Regions from separate parts of the Homo sapiens genome. Here regions 1 and 2 are each linked to region 3. The links are contacts of gene promoters, found by promoter capture Hi-C in human tissues and cell types (Jung and others, 2019). All regions are on one chromosome and are shown on one strand. Each heading gives the region's core, a stretch centred on a gene start or on the middle of the fragment in contact. The rest is flanking DNA. Distances are from core to core; before and after follow the strand shown.

The links. Contacts are between HindIII fragments. The study calls those that stand out against the background at their distance.
Region 1: a fragment that was not itself captured here is called in contact with the fragment with the promoter of QRICH2 in region 3 in 3 of the 25 tissues and cell types used here (heart left ventricle, hippocampus and pancreas).
Region 2: a fragment that was not itself captured here is called in contact with the fragment with the promoter of QRICH2 in region 3 in 4 of the 25 tissues and cell types used here (IMR-90 fibroblasts, heart left ventricle, mesendoderm cells and 1 more).

What each region holds. Positions count from the first base shown.
Region 1 is chr17:76,267,638-76,270,385 of GRCh38, reverse strand. It overlaps UBALD2 (UBA like domain containing 2), which reads right to left. Exons shown (of 3, transcript NM_182565.4): 3 at 1-192. Among named protein-coding and RNA genes, the nearest start is that of UBALD2, 3.7 kb to the right of the region's middle. RefSeq lists enhancers at 136-325, 2,026-2,255. The HindIII fragment of the contact is 4,243 bases long and covers 1-2,748 here.
Region 2 is chr17:76,250,281-76,253,089 of GRCh38, reverse strand. All of the region lies in intron 5 of LOC105371896 (a long non-coding RNA gene), which reads left to right. Among named protein-coding and RNA genes, the nearest start is that of RNF157, 11 kb to the right of the region's middle. RefSeq lists an enhancer at 911-980. The HindIII fragment of the contact is 5,873 bases long and covers 1-2,809 here.
Region 3 is chr17:76,306,793-76,309,628 of GRCh38, reverse strand. It overlaps QRICH2 (glutamine rich 2), which reads left to right and starts at 1,353. Exons shown (of 19, transcript NM_001388453.1): 1 at 1,353-2,164. The coding sequence starts at 1,631. PRPSAP1 (phosphoribosyl pyrophosphate synthetase associated protein 1) reads left to right here. Exons shown (of 10, transcript NM_002766.3): 10 at 1-151. The HindIII fragment of the contact is 11,814 bases long and covers 1-2,836 here.

The DNA of each region.
Region 1 (2,748 bases), core at 86-2,585, 39 kb after region 3:
GATCCAGGGCGCCTGGTGGCTGGGCGGGGACGAGGCCCAGAAGGGGCTGAAGTTTGCAGGTGGGGAGCAGGCTGCGGCTGTCATGGGGCTGTTGCTGCTCTGCAGGCCCTCGGAGGCGCGGAGCTTGGAGAACATGGCCAGCGCATCGGGGAAGTTGGGCGGCGTGGCAGGGGTGTTGCTGGGAGTGCACATCTGCGGGAGAGAACACGGGTGTGGGGAGGCTGCCTCGGGGGTCCCCGAGCCACTGGATGGGGCTTACCCAGGCCAGCCGCTCCTTTACTCCCATTTTTCAGCTTCATTCATTTTCGCACAAGCAGCTTCCACAGGACAAAAGTGCCCTCTCCCCGAGGCAATACAAACAGAAAACAAGGACAAAACCCAAGAACCTTATCAAAACCAACGGGGTTTCATGAGGCCTGGAAATGACACCCCGAGGAGCATTCAAAGTAAATGGTTAATTGCACCCAGGAGCTAAGGTGTCAGATTAAAGTGAAAGGGCAAGGGGGCAGCCCAGGACACCACTGTTCCGCACCTTCCCTGGGCAGGGAGACCAGCTGACTGCCCCACCAGCCACCCTCAGATGCTCCCAGGCTGCTAGGCAAGGGAGAGCGGCCAGCGGGGAGGCTCTCCCTCCTGTGCCAACCCTGGAAAAGTTAAGCCACCTTGGTGGATGGGTTCACACCACACTAAGGGTGACAGCCACCAGGCCTTGAAGGCTTTGCCTCCCTTAACAATGACACTTAGTGGCTTCAATTATCCTCTCTTTATGACAAATGAGGAAACTGAGGCCCAGAAGTCAAGTCACTTGCCCGAAAATGCACCCACAGCAGAGGGCAAGTTGAGAAGACGGACCTCCCCAGCTCCCAAGTCTGCAGGCCCAAGCTCTTAACATCTACTGGGCCACGCTGCACAGAGTCAAGAGCCCCTTTATATCTGGGCCCCTTGAGGACACAAACCAGGGATTTCAATGTCCTGTGTCTGTAGCCTCAGGCCACAAACACAGCTGGCCTGCCCTTGCCTGCAGGCTGGCAGTTTCTCAGTCTGTCCAGCCCCTCAGTCCTCTTCCTGGGGGTAGCTACAGTCCCCCATCTGCTGTCTTCTGTCACTACCCTGGGGGCAGGGGCTGGAGTGCCATCCAGGAGCACCTCGTCAGCAGCATGGGCAAGAGGCAACACAGAGAACAAGACCACACAAAACTGGCTGGGACCTCAAAGCTGCTTTCTCCCTTTCCCAGGAAGCCACAGGAGTCCTTCTTTGAATTTCTCCTAATTTTAGCAACACTGGCCCCTCCCCCAGGCGCAGGAGTTGGGGGAACGACTTGAGGGCTCTTCACCTTGAAAGAGGGAGCTTTGGCAGGGCGCAGTGGCTCACGTCTGTAATCCCAGCACTTTGGGAGGCCGAGGCGGGTGGATCACCTGAGGTTAGGAGTTCGAGACCAGCCTGACCAACATGGTGAAACCCTGTCTCTATTAAAAAATACAAAAATTAGCTGGGTGTGGTGATGGGCGTCTATAATCCCAGCTACTTGGGAGGTTGAGGCCGGAGAATCACTTGAACCCGGGAGGTGGAGGTTGTAGTGAGCTGAGATCACGTCACTGCACTCCAGCCTAGGTGGCAGAGCAAAACTCCGTCTCAAAAAAAAAAAAAAAAAAAACAGAGGGAGCTTTCACAGCTAGAAACCGGAGGTTGTGTAGGGGGTGTGTAACATACATGGAATGGGGACACTAGCACACCCTGTCCATTGAGCCCCACACCATGTCAGCACCCAGGGCACCAAGGGAGCTCTGACCCTTGCCTTTCTAGGGGTCCTCAGGGGGAGGCCAAAGGACCCAATGCAGAGGCCTGGCCCCACCCAGACCTTTCCCCTCCTCCCTCCACTACTCCCTGCCCCCCCCCCACCCTCTGGGGATGACTTCTCGGCAGCAGGAAACAATGAATGAAGGGTGGGGGTGGAGGCCAATTGCATCACAGCATCGTGACCGACTTCCCCAGTTCCCCGCCAGCCAGCGAGGCCTGTCTCCTCAAACAGCCGCCAGAGAACAGCAGGGATGATGGCTGGCAGGCCTGTGGTGGCCTGCCTGTGTAAGCTTGGGCAAGTTCCTGAACCTCTCTGGAGCTTCTCTCTGCTTTTGTAAAATGAGGGTTTTGAACCAGATATGCCCTCTCGGCCAGTTCTCAAGAAAACCCATTGTCCCCTGTACCTTTGTCCTCCCACTTCAAGTCTGTAGTGCCTTTCTCCACTTCCAACTGGGAAGCCCTCCTTATCAACTGGGAAGCTTCCAACTATGGGAATCTACAGTAATGTACGGGACAACCATTTATCAGTTACTCATGACTTCTGGTTTTGCCATTTTGCTGTTACTGGTCTCTAGTGTTTCGTTTTTTGATCTTTTTCCTTTGACTTACTTTGTCCAAAATAAATTGCCAGGCCGGGTGCAGTGGCTCACGCCTGTAATCCCTGAACTTTGGGAGGCCGAGGCAGGCGGACCACCTGAGGTTGGGAGTTCGAGACCAGCCTGATCAACATGGAGAAACCCCGTCTCTACTAAAAATACAAAATTAGCCAGGTGTGGGATTACAGGTGGCACGTGCCTGTAATCCCATGAGGCAGGAGAATCGTTTGAACCCAGGAGGTGAAGGTTGCGGTGAGCCGAGATCACACCATTGCACTCCGCCTAGGCAATAAGAGTGAAACTCTGTCTCAAAAAAAAAAAAAAAGAAAAGAAATTGCCAGCTGGGTGCAGTGGC
Region 2 (2,809 bases), core at 292-2,791, 57 kb after region 3:
GAGGCCGAGGTGGGCGGATCATTTGAGGTCAGGAGTTTGAGGTCAGTCTGACCAATATGGTGAAACCCCGTCTCTGTTAAAAATACAAAATCAGCCGGGCATGGTGGTGCATGCCTGTAGTCCCAGCTACTTGGGAGACTGAGGCAGGAGAATCGCTTTAACTTGGGAGGCAGAGATTGCAGTGAGCTGAGATCAGCCCATTGCACTTCCAGCCTGGGCAACAAGAGCGAGACTGTGTCTCAAGGAAAAAAAATTCCCAGAGTCACAGAGGAAATTTAAATGGACTAGGACTCAGCAGAAGGGAAAGAAATGTTAAAAGAAGCCAGAGTTTCTGATGAGATCATGCTTGAGGCTTTAGAAATTGTCAGGAACTCAGGAAGCCCGGGTATAGTGAAAAAAAAAAAAAAGTGAAAGAGAGAGAAAATCAAAAACAGAGAGCAAGAAACAAGTGCTGGGAAGAGAGGAGTTTGTTTACCATAAAGCCCCTGATTTGTTTGCCAGGATAGGTCCCCTTCTCCTTCAGAAACACAGCACCTCCAGAGTGAATGATGAATGAATGCCATTTCTGACCCCAACAGCCCAAGCCACACAAATCATTCTTTGGGCCAGGCATGAGGTGCTGTTAATAAAACACAGAGCCAGTGTTCTGCCTAAAGAGGAAGGAAGTATTTACTGAACACTAGAGCACTGGGTTGTACACAACCGAATTGGGAAACCACTAGAATATGCCTCATCACGAACAACATCCGTGCCACACGCTCCCGTGCCCAACACGCCCTGGGGCCTGGGAACAGTCAGAGAAAATCTTGTGTCCTGCCTTTGGGAGCTTCCAGATCAGAGCTGACCCACTGACCACACTGTGTACAGAGTCCAGTCATCAGAAGGGATTGAGCAAGGAAACAGGGTGTCCATCCAGCCCTGAAGGCAGGCAGCTGCCTACGCACTTCATGGCAGTGTTTGCAGGAGGACAGGTTACTCATCTGCTGGAGCTCTTAGAGGGAAGCTTAAGGCCAAAGAGGACTTCCATAGACAAGAGCTTCCCCGGGCCTGTTGAGGAAATAGTCCCGATACAGGAAGGAGATTGATAATACAGAGGGAAGTGAGGAGGAAAAGGAAGAAAGATTAAACCTAGAGAGAGGCACAGTGAAGGTGGAGGTGGTGGTGTGACAATGATGGAGACGTCCCCATGCATTGCCCTTTGTCACTGGCACCACCCTGGGAGAATCACTCCGCTAGCTTGGTGGGCAGTAGGGCTGGCACCCAGGCAGGCTTTCCCCACAGAGGCTGGTGAGATGATGATCCATGGGTAAAATGTAGGACTTTGAACCTGGAAGAACCTGGGGCCAGTTCCTGCTCCCTGTGCCTACTTGAGTTCCAGTTTCCTCATCTGGGAAGTGGGAACAATAATACTTATCTCTTAGGGTTGTTTTGAAGATTAAATGAGGCTCAGGTGGGAGGATCGCTTGAGCCCAGGAGGTTGAGACTGCAGTGAACTGTGATCACACCACTGCACTCCAGCTCGGGTGACAACGCATTCCAAAGTGCTTGGACAGAGTCATTGCTCAAAAATGACTATTCTTGGCTGGGCTCGGTGGTTCACGCCTATAATCCCAGCACTTTGGGAGGCCAAGGCAGGTGGATCACCTGAGGTCAGGAGTTCAAGACCAGCCTTACCAGCATGGTGAAACCCTATCTCTACTAAAAATACAAAAATTAGCTGGGCATGGTGGCATTCACCTGTAATCCCAGCTATTCGGGAGGCTGAGGCAGGAGAATCACTTGAACCTGGGAGGCAGAGGTTGCAGTGAGTCAAGATTGCGCCATTGCACATCAGCCTGGGCTACAGAGGGAGACTCCGTCTCAAAACAACAACAACAACAACAACTAAATAGTCATTCATTTAGTGAGCACTTTCTATATGGGAAGCAATGTACCCAGCCCTTCTGGGGGATTAGAAGAAACCTAAGACCAGGGGTATGCTGGTAAACTGGCTCTGGAGAATGGGAGGAAGCTGTGATTTGCAGCATTTGATGGTTTCTGTGTTGTAAATACTCCCATTACGCTACCAACAATTTAACAACTGGCTGGCAAAATTCCTGAACTATGAGCCCTGGAGAGCTGGCCCCAACTCAGTGAACTTGAACATTCTTTCTAGTTAGCAAATGGCACTTAAGTGAGAAGTTAACAATGGCAGAAGGCCGTGCACGGTGGCTCACGCCTATAATTCCAGCACTTTGGGAGGCTGAGGCGGGAGGATCACCTGAGCCCAGGAGTTCGAGACCAACCTGGGCAACATAGTGAGACCCTATCTCTTAAAAAAAATAGCCGGGTGTGGTGGCGCACTTTAGTCCCAGCTCCTCAGGAGGCTGAGGTGGGAGGATCGCCTGAGCACAGGAGGTCGAGGCTGCTGTGGGCCACGTTCATGCCACTGTATTCCAGCCTGGTGACCGTATCTCAAAACAAAAAGCAAACCCCCCAAAACAATGGCAGACAAACTCTGACCCACAAATACACACATCCGCAAATACACACACCACACACGTCCACAGATGGCTAATCCAGACAGCAGGGGCAAGAGGGCCGATTAGGGGCCTTGCTTTCTTCTAGTGCAGTGACTTGTTGGCAGTACTTTGTTAAGAAGGAGCAGGGCTGGGCTATCTTTTTCTCTGGCCCTTTAGCAGCCACCACACGTGATAAGGGAGACATGTTTCTGGCATTTTGAGTTTCAATGAACACAGAAAAGTGATGTCTCAGGAAATCGAAACCCCTGGGCTCTGCCTTCACCTGGTATGGGAAGTGCGTGGACCTC
Region 3 (2,836 bases), core at 104-2,603:
AGTCGTGGTTGGTTAAATCTGCAGATGCAGAGCTCACGGAGGAGGCTGGCCATGCATGGCACACATTCATAGGTTCTCTTTAAGTAGCCTTGCTGTGCTTCTGTTAGGAAGTTTTATTTATACGTTTTTGGGAAGAATCTTGTATGGGGAAGTCATGTCTCAATTGTTAACACCAGATTTGTCTCGTGCTGTTTAATCCTGCTTTGTAATGAGCTCAAGCACAGGCGCTTGACCAGGTGAGTGGTTTCTTTTCTTTTCTTTTTTTTTTTTTTTGAGACAGAGTCTTGCACTGTCGCCCAGGCTGGGGTGCAGTGGTGCGATCTTGGCTCACTGCAACCTCTGCCTCCCGGGTTGACGCGATTCTCCTGCCTCAGCCTCCCGAGTAGCTGGGATTACAGATGCGCGGTACCATGCCCGGCTAATTTTTTGTATTTTTAGCAGAGGGGTTTCACTATGTTGGCTAGGCTGGCCTTGAACCCCTTACCTCAGGTGATCCACCCGCCTCGGCCTCCCAAAGTGCTGGGATTACAGGTGTGAGCCACCAAGCCTGGCCGTTTTTTTGAGATCAATTAATTTATGGCAGGCTGGGCGCGGTGGCTTACACCTGTAATCCCAGCACTTTGGGAGGCCGAGGTGGGTCGATCACTTGAGGTCGGGAGTTCAAGACCAGCCTGGCCAACATAGTGAAACCCCGTCTCTGCTAAAAATACAAAAAATTAGCCGGGCATGGTACCACGCATCTGTAATCCCAGCTACTCGGGAGGCTGAGGCAGGAGAATCATGTCAACCCGGGAGGCAGAGGTTGCAGTGAGCCGAGATCGTGCCATTGCACTACAGCCTGGGCGACAGAGCAAGACTCCCTCTCAAAAGTAAAAAAAAAATTATGGCAGCACAGAAAAGGGACAATTAGCCACCAGTTAGTCATCTAGTGGCTAATTGGAACTGCCTGAATAGTGAGTGGGTTGTCTTTTCCAAGTTGCTTCACCTTTGATTGAACAAAATATGTGGACTGTCTGAGGGGACCAGGGCCCCAGGACTGCATCCCTTAGACATGGGGCCATAGACATGGGGCCACCACTCTGGAATGGACGCAGCTGATGACACAAAGCATGGTTGCCAGGAAACCCTCAAGTCTTTCCTTATGTGGCCCCGCCAAGAGTGAGTGAATCCTGGCCTTTCTAGGTTAAGGGGATGGATGGAGTCTAGCTGGATCTTAGGAGGCCTCCTCAGCCCGTTGCCAAGGCTCCCCTTGTGATCCTTGTGGTGGCCTTTACTTCCCCCCGCCCCCGTGGCTCGCAGGGAGGCGTGTTGTTACGTGGAATCTTCAGGGCACGCGGGGGCCCCCACGTTTCAAACGTCCGCCGGCGCGGGGACTGGGAGTCCAGGGCTCCAGCTCGGGGACCCGAGGCCAGCGACAGACAGCGGAGGGGTGGCCATCGCGGACCCCGCCGGGGAGCGGAGGCGCAGATTCCCTGGAGGCAGGAGCTCTGTCCAGTGACTCGGCCGGACCCGGGGCAGGGGCGCCCCGAGGACCTCGCAGGGCCCCCGAAAGGCCCCAAGGCGCGGCGTGCAGTGAGCGGGAAGTGGTTGGCCGGCGCCCCGCGGCGGCGCACAGCTCCTGACAGCCACGATGCCGCCCGCGACCACGGTCTCCCTCCGGGAGCTGGCGGACCTCTCCATCGGCACGCCAGAGGTGGGCGCCGTCAACTTCACGGCCCTGCACACGCTCATCGTGGCCATGCTCAAGAACCTCGACCTCCAAAATACCCGGATCGACTTCCAGCCCTCGTCGCCCGAGCCCAGCCGCTCGCTGCAGTCCGTCCGGAGCTCGTTCAGCATCCCGCACCTGCCCGCGCCCAAGGAGGTGCCCAAGGGGGCGCCCCGGGAGAAGCGCAGGGGCGTGGGCCAGGCGCCTTCGTCAGCGCTGGAGAGCCAAGTGAAGGACCTGGGCGGCCAGGTGGAGGACCTGAGCAAGCAGCTCAAGCGTGTGGACGGCCAGGTGCAGGGCATCGCCACGCACGTGCAGCACTTCTCCCAGGCCAGCGGGCTTGACCTGGCCGCGCTAGAGTGGCCGGAGGAGCAGGAGGTGGGCGTGCGGGCGTTCGATAGGGTGCGGACTGGGAGTATCATGAAGGACGCCGCCGAGGAGCTCAGCTTTGCCAGGGTGAGCACGCACACGGAGGCACGCGCAGGCCGTCTGCCTCCTCCAGGCCGCCCTCCAGGCCTAGCCGAGTCCCCACCACCCTGGAGGGGTGAGCGGTGGTGGGGACGGAGGGGATGGGGACCGAGGAGGTGCCAGACCTCAGTGCGACTGGCTAAATAGAGTGGCCCATGCTCTACCTTGCAGTCCACGGGGCTGCAAGACGTGAAAATCCTAAAAGAACGCCACCAAAAGGCCTAGGGCCTCCCCGAGCTGGAGGGGCCTGGGGACCCCACCTCCTAAGTGTAGTGGCCCCATCCCACCCCCTCCTTCCTAGCCCCTGTTTACGGGAGAGGTTCGCCCACCACTTATCAGACATCCAAGGACCCAGAGCTGGCTCAGAGTGGGGCCGGCAACTTCTCAGAAGATTCTTAGAGTGAATTCCCTTTTTAAAATGAATAAGGACATGAAGAGATACGTGTTGAGGACAAAGGCTCCCAGAGAAGGGGAGTCAGGATGGAGAGTTGGACCTCAGCTTCCTATGGCCATGACACAAGCCACAGCAGGCAGGGGACCGTTTCACTTGGACTTTTTTTTTTTTTGAGAAGGAGTCTCACTCTATCACCCAGGCTGAAATGCAGTGGTGCAGTCTCGGCTCACTGCAACTTCCGCCTCCCAGACTCAAGCGATTCTCCT